2 separate regions of the Homo sapiens genome follow, and region 2 is linked to region 1. The links are contacts of gene promoters, found by promoter capture Hi-C in blood cells and fetal thymus (Javierre and others, 2016). All regions are on one chromosome and are shown on one strand. The core of a region is centred on a gene start or on the middle of the fragment in contact, and the rest is flanking DNA. Distances in the headings are between cores, read along the strand shown.

What was found. Contacts are between HindIII fragments. The CHiCAGO score rates a contact against its expected background, and 5 or more counts as called.
Region 2: a fragment that was not itself captured here is called in contact with the fragment with the promoter of GNAI3 in region 1 in 1 of 17 cell types (M2 macrophages); the score reaches 5.2 in M2 macrophages.

The regions. Positions count from the first base shown.
Region 1 is chr1:109,547,339-109,550,265 of GRCh38, forward strand. It overlaps GNAI3 (G protein subunit alpha i3), which reads left to right and starts at 1,277. Exons shown (of 9, transcript NM_006496.4): 1 at 1,277-1,500. The coding sequence starts at 1,383. RefSeq lists enhancers at 804-863, 1,394-1,563. The HindIII fragment of the contact is 6,158 bases long and covers 1-2,927 here.
Region 2 is chr1:109,888,316-109,891,556 of GRCh38, forward strand. All of the region lies in intron 4 of LINC01768 (long intergenic non-protein coding RNA 1768), which reads left to right. Among named protein-coding and RNA genes, the nearest start is that of CSF1, 21 kb to the right of the region's middle. RefSeq lists a cis regulatory region at 822-1,246 and an enhancer at 1,932-2,226. The HindIII fragment of the contact is 693 bases long and covers 1,601-2,293 here.

The DNA.
Region 1 (2,927 bases), core at 27-2,526:
TGACTGGGGGACTTTTCAAACCTTGAAGAATTGGCATTGCTAAGAGTTAAGGTGGACGAGGCTTTTTAAGGTGGCTCTAATCCTCTAATTAAATCCTTCTAATTAATGAATCATCACTATATAAACCTCTCTGTTGGGACCTTACTTTCTCAAGTTCAGATTCTATTAGAGAAATAAATTTACAATCACAGGGAAAGGTTTTAGGGACTGAGTTCCCTTCGCTAGAACGTATAGTAATTGTGGGCTTATTTGCCTGAAAAGTTGATTTAGGACTACCTTCACGCAGTATCCAGGGTTATTAGTGAAAGATGCTATCTGCCTGGGACTTTCACAGTGGACTTAAGTTTCAGGTGATACTAGGGCTGAGAGGCAAATTTTACTAGAACCTCTCCTTTTGCATGTTATCGCAACAGGAAATTTTAGTAGGAGATTCACAGGATGCACTGGTTTGTTTCGGGGTGTGGAATTGAAGTTGACTTATCTTGGTTTTAGTTCTAAGACCCTAAGGTAGGAAGATCTGAATTATACTGGAGAGAAGGGCAGCATGGAAATTTTATGGAGGAACTACAGGCTTACCTTTCAGGTTATCGAGTATCTGCTAGCGATTTCAAGTGGCCTTTTGCCAATATAGGAGTTAAGCAAATCTCAAGCCCACAGAAATACGTGAATAGCAAAAGGACCAGGGGACATTTTGAGAGGAGTCAGTGGGCCAGAGACGGCAAAAAGTTATTGCTGAGGTCCTAAGCACAGTCGGTGTTACGATCTCAGATGTGAGACGTGAACGGCGCCCAGGCCGGATAGCTTGTTCCCATTCCATTGATCTGAGATAACCCCAACGGAGGCAGTGTCCCATACTTGGGTAGGGGTCCCGAGTCTCCACAGCCAGAGATCAAAGGAGTTTTCTGGCAGGCGAGAAATTACCAGCAGATATTCCCGCGCGGGATGTAGGCTTTAATTTAGAAATCTCCGCCCCAAAACTGGCATCTTGAACGCGGGAGGGCATTATGAGTTAGAGGCCCCGGTTTTTCTCCATTTATCCAAATCAGGTAGCCGAAAGGTAAATGAGGCTTCAAGTTGGGCGGCGGGCAGCGAACTTGACAGAACCTCGAAACTCTGCAGATCCGCCGCCCAACCCAGCCGCCAGCTCCCCGTGACTTCCGCTTTCGGTCTCAACTCCTCTCCCTGAGGAGAGTGGTTTAAACGGTGAAGGCTGCGGGGCGTCGCCGGAAGTGTCGTAAACGTCGGATATCCGGTTCTTCTGGGCGCTAAGGGAGCTGACGGAGAGGGCCACCGCCCAGCAATAGACGGTGCCTCAGCCTGCCGAGCCGCAGTTTCCGTGGTGTGAGTGAGTCCGGGCCCGTGTCCCCTCTCCCGCCGCCGCCATGGGCTGCACGTTGAGCGCCGAAGACAAGGCGGCAGTGGAGCGAAGCAAGATGATCGACCGCAACTTACGGGAGGACGGGGAAAAAGCGGCCAAAGAAGTGAAGCTGCTGCTACTCGGTGAGGGGCTGGAGGCGGGGACTGAGTGGTGGTCGGGAGAGCCTAGGCGCTTGGAAGGCCTGAACGGGGTCTGGTCGGGCCGACGGAAAGGACCCTAAAGGGATCTGGAGGGCGTGCCGGGCGTGGGGCGGGGTGTTGGGGTTCCTAGCTGAGGCCCCAGAGGGCGTGATGAGGGGGGTGGGGTTTTGGGGTTGCGGGAATTAGGCTGTAGAGGGTGTGACTCCGGGCTAGAATTGCGTTTAGCAGAGAGACTTGGGAGTATGGGCCGGTAGATGTTGAGGGAGTAGGAATATGGGAAAAGCTCATAAAGGAAGAGTTGATACTAGGAAGGTTTTACGTTGGGTTGGAGCGTGTTGGTAACGAGAACGGCATAGAGTATATGTTGGGCTTGTATAATGGTTTGTGAGTTTGGAGCGTCGTGGTTCTTTGGCAGGATAAAGCTAGCAGGCTTGAATGGATGGTACAGAGACTGGAACAGAATGGTCACATAAGGACGTTGACATTTGTTAGTAAGAGAGCCATTTGAACTGTTGGAAGAACCCTGGATTATCCAGGAACATGAAGATAGGTAGGTGAGATAAATGACAAGTTATCAGGTATAAAGGAAAAGAGCTTGGGTGCAGAGGCCATCTCTACTTTTCCACCGTTTCCTATCATTTTTATTTTCAAAGTTTTATAACGTCTTCTTCTGTTTTTACAAAAGGATGGGAAATGGTGTGAGCTGAAGAAATTTAAAGAATGATTTCTTTGAGGTTTGTAGCAGAAGATCTAGTGAACAAGAGATTACACATTGGAGGATGCTGAATAGTTGCTATAGATGATGTGTAGTTGGAATAGTTACCTTAGGATAAGTTACAGAGTTGGACATATTCACTGTAAAGACTATGGTAGACTTCTGGTGGCTGTTTTATCCTTTTTGGCCTCTTCAAAGCAAAACCATTGACTTCAGGAATTACTGTTTATGTTATTTGATAGTCGTTTTAATTGGCTTTTTTTAAACACAGTCGGATGTATTTTACTCAACATGAGTTTCAAAATTTTTGAGAGGCTCAGTAAATCATACAAAGAATACTGGCATTAGCTTACTAATAAATCAAGCCACATTTCTTCATTATTAGTGAAGATTTTCTAGGGTAGTATTTCCATTATTTTCCAATATTTTCTAGGGTAGTATTTCCATTAGAGAAGAATAAGTAGGAGTAGGGGTTTCTACAGAAACCCTTACAAGCAATAGAAATTTACTTTTTAAAACAATTGATTTTTGAGGAAAAGGAGTCACTTTAGGGGAAATGCTAAATTTTCATGGTATAAAGCTCCAGAGAACAGAATGTACACTGTAACCCAAGACTTATTTTGTACATTCTAAGTGCCCCTGTTAGTCTCTTCGTGTGAACATATTTGGTTGGTTGTAGATTGCAGAAGCTCTG
Region 2 (3,241 bases), core at 697-3,196, 340 kb after region 1:
GGTAAAAAATGGGGTGGCCTTGACTAGGATGATGGCTGTTGCTGGAGAGAAGAGGTCAGATTTTAGGGATATTTTAGAGGATTTGGGAGCTAAAGAAGAACAGAGGAGTCAAAGTCAACCTACCGTTTTTCATTTGTACAACGCACTGGATGGTTGAGTTTGTTTCCTGGGAAGTCAGCTGTGGATATACTGAGTGGGGCTGCTGTTGGGGGGGTCTCGAATAAAGGTGTCAAGTCACGCAGGGTTGCCAGATCAAATACGGATGCCCAGTTACGTCTGAATTTTAGATAAATGACAAATAATGTTTTAGTATAAATCTGTCCTATTGCATTGGGCATATTCATACTAAAAAAGCATCCATTGTTTATCTGAAATTAAATTTAACTGGGCATCCTGTGTTTTTATTCGCTAAATCTGTCAACCCTACAGGCAATTGAACCCATGGATCTGAAGATCAGGAGGGGTCTAGAAGAGAGGTGTCCTCCATAGTTTCCAGCCTAGAGCAGCACTTGAAGCATTAGGAGTGCAGGGGGTGGCTTAGGGGCAATAAACAGAGGAGACAGGTCTAGGGCAGTCACAGTAAGTCCAATATTTAGGGTTTGGGTAGAGGAGGACAAACAGGAAAGTGTAATGGAAGCCAAGGGTAGGAGAAAGAAGAAGTGACCCTCAGTGGAAAAATCAAACATGCGAGGGCTAAAACTGTTCACTGAATGTATGGAGAAGGTCATTAGTAGTTTGGGTGCAGTTTATTTATATTTTGTGAGGGAGGAAAAATCTATCACAGTGAGTTGAGGCGTAAATGGAAAGTGTTTGAGATGTTTTCCTAGGAAGAAGAGGGTAATCATTGGAGGAAGAGATAGAATCAAGGGAGGGCCCGATTTCACATTAGAGACTTGAATGTGTTTAAATGATGGGGAGCTGAGAGTAAAGAGGGAGAAGCTGAAGATAAAGGAAAAGAGGGGATAGGCAAGGTCCCTGAGATGGCAGCAAGGGTTGGGATCCAGAAGCTAAGAGGGCAAATTAGATAGAAGAGTGTATGCCTTCCATTAAACCAGGAGGCAAAGTGGAGAGGACCTGTGCAGCCGGTAGATAAGAGAAGCTGCAGGATGGCTGAAGACTCACTGCCTCAAGGCTTCTGTCTTTTTTTTTTTTTTGAGATGGAGTCTCCCTCTGTCACCCAGGCTGGAGTGCAGTGGCGCGATCTTGGCTGACTACAACCTCCACCTCCTGGGTTCAAGTGATTCTCCTGCCTCAGCCTCCCCAAGTAGCTGGGACTACAGCCGTCTGCCGCCACCCCAAGATAATTTTTTTTTTGTATTTTTAGTAGAGACAAGGTTTCACCATATTGGTCAGGCTGGTCTTGAACTCTTGACCTCAGGTGATCCACCTGCCTCAGCCTCCCAAAGTGCTGGGATTACAGGCATGAGCCACCACACCTGGCTGGCTTCTGTCTTATCTTTGAAAGGAGTAGGAGATAACATCTGCTGAGAATTCAGATGGAAGTAAGTATGTGGAAAGTTTGAGGACAGGGATACGGTCTACCAGGGTGGTTTTTCCAGGACTAGAATATGTATGGCAGGCAGCACTGAGGACCCAGCCAAGCTTGGTGGTCACAGTGTTGGAGGACCTGGCCAGCTTGCTACTGTGGCCTTCTCCTGCAGAATCACCTGTCATGCCAGTGCAGTTCAGAGGAAAAGGACAGCTGCTTCATCCACCGGTGGAATTTTGGCAGGCGGTGCAACAAGGGGGAATTTATGTTATAGGAGAGAATGAATAAAATTCTGAGCTGTGCATCTCAGGTGTGAGAAAAGAGAATGCAGGAAAAAGGGGGCTGCTGGATTGAAAGAAAACAGAGGGATCCATGGACGGGGTACCTGATGGGGTCAGAGGTCAAGAGTAGACAAAGTGATTGAGTGGAGAAGCTGAGAGTATAGAGAAGGCCATCAAGATTAGTGATTTCAGAGGTGAGGGAGTTCTGGGTGGTGACTAAGTCTAGGGAGTGGTGATGGGAGTGGGTGGCCAAGTCACAGTGGGACAGAAGGTTGTCAGAGATGGGGAAAGCCAGCAGCTCAGAGGCTAGGGTGTGGGCTGCCACTCTCACGGACATAAAGTCATCCCGATGATGACAGGGGCTCCCTGTACACACCACACCTTACCTCTCCTGGCAACACCCCACTGTGTCTCAACCATGTGGGTTGCTATGGTGGTGGGTGTATGTGGGATGGTGGTAGTTAAAACTGGGAGGGCTCTGTGAGATGTTTCCATAATAGGAAGAGATTTTGTCACTTGTGTAAGCTTTGAACAAAATGGGTTCCTCAAAGTCCTCACATAGCTTGTTATCAAGATGAATCAGGATTGAGAAAATCTAAGATTCGTCCTCTACTCCCATGCTGATGGCAGCCCAGAATGGAACGCCTCCTCCCCTTCCCCCACTCCTGGAGCCTGCTCCTCTCTCATGTCCTCCCAGCCACTCTGTGTAGATAATTCAGTCTCACTCTCATGTCACCAACTCTGCCTCTTTCTATTTATTCCCACTGTACCTGTTCTGATTCATGTTATTGCCACCAGTCTCCTAACATTACATTGCTTCTTAACTGATTTATCTGCTCCACCCTTTCCCTCCAACTTTCCCCAGCTCCCCCTTCCAGGGGAGAGAGGACAAAGAGAGGACACTCCTAGAAATAAACTCTCCAAAATACACCCTTCCCACAGCCGTCAGCAGAGCCTCTGCAAAATGCGGGTCAGTTTAGATGACTCCTGTCATGGAAACTTCTCAGAGGGTCTCTGTGTCTACAGAACAAAGACGACACTCCTTGCTTAGCACGATACCAAGACTCCTCCTCGCCTGACCACCTACATCTCCTCCCTCCATGTCCTATGCGCCAGTCCCTGTGGGCTTTTGTATGTTAGCTGTAACAAAGCATGTACTTTCCTGACTCATGCTCTCCTCCTGTTTCTCTGGCTGGCAAGAGCCTGTGCATCCCATAGGGCTTAGCCGCAATCACACCTTCTCTTTGGTGCCTTTTTTATCCTCATAGTTCAAAATTAATCAGCCCTTTCTCTACAACAAAGCCAGCATGTTGTCAAATCTCTATTTAGCATATATTGTCAGCCTTGTATTGCAGTCAACTGTTTAGAAATCGTTCATGTAACACTTATCTATAAATATGTTTAGTTGTGTGAGACGCTGAGGACACAAAGACAGAAGGCCAGTCCCTGCCTTCAGAGTGTTCATGTTTTG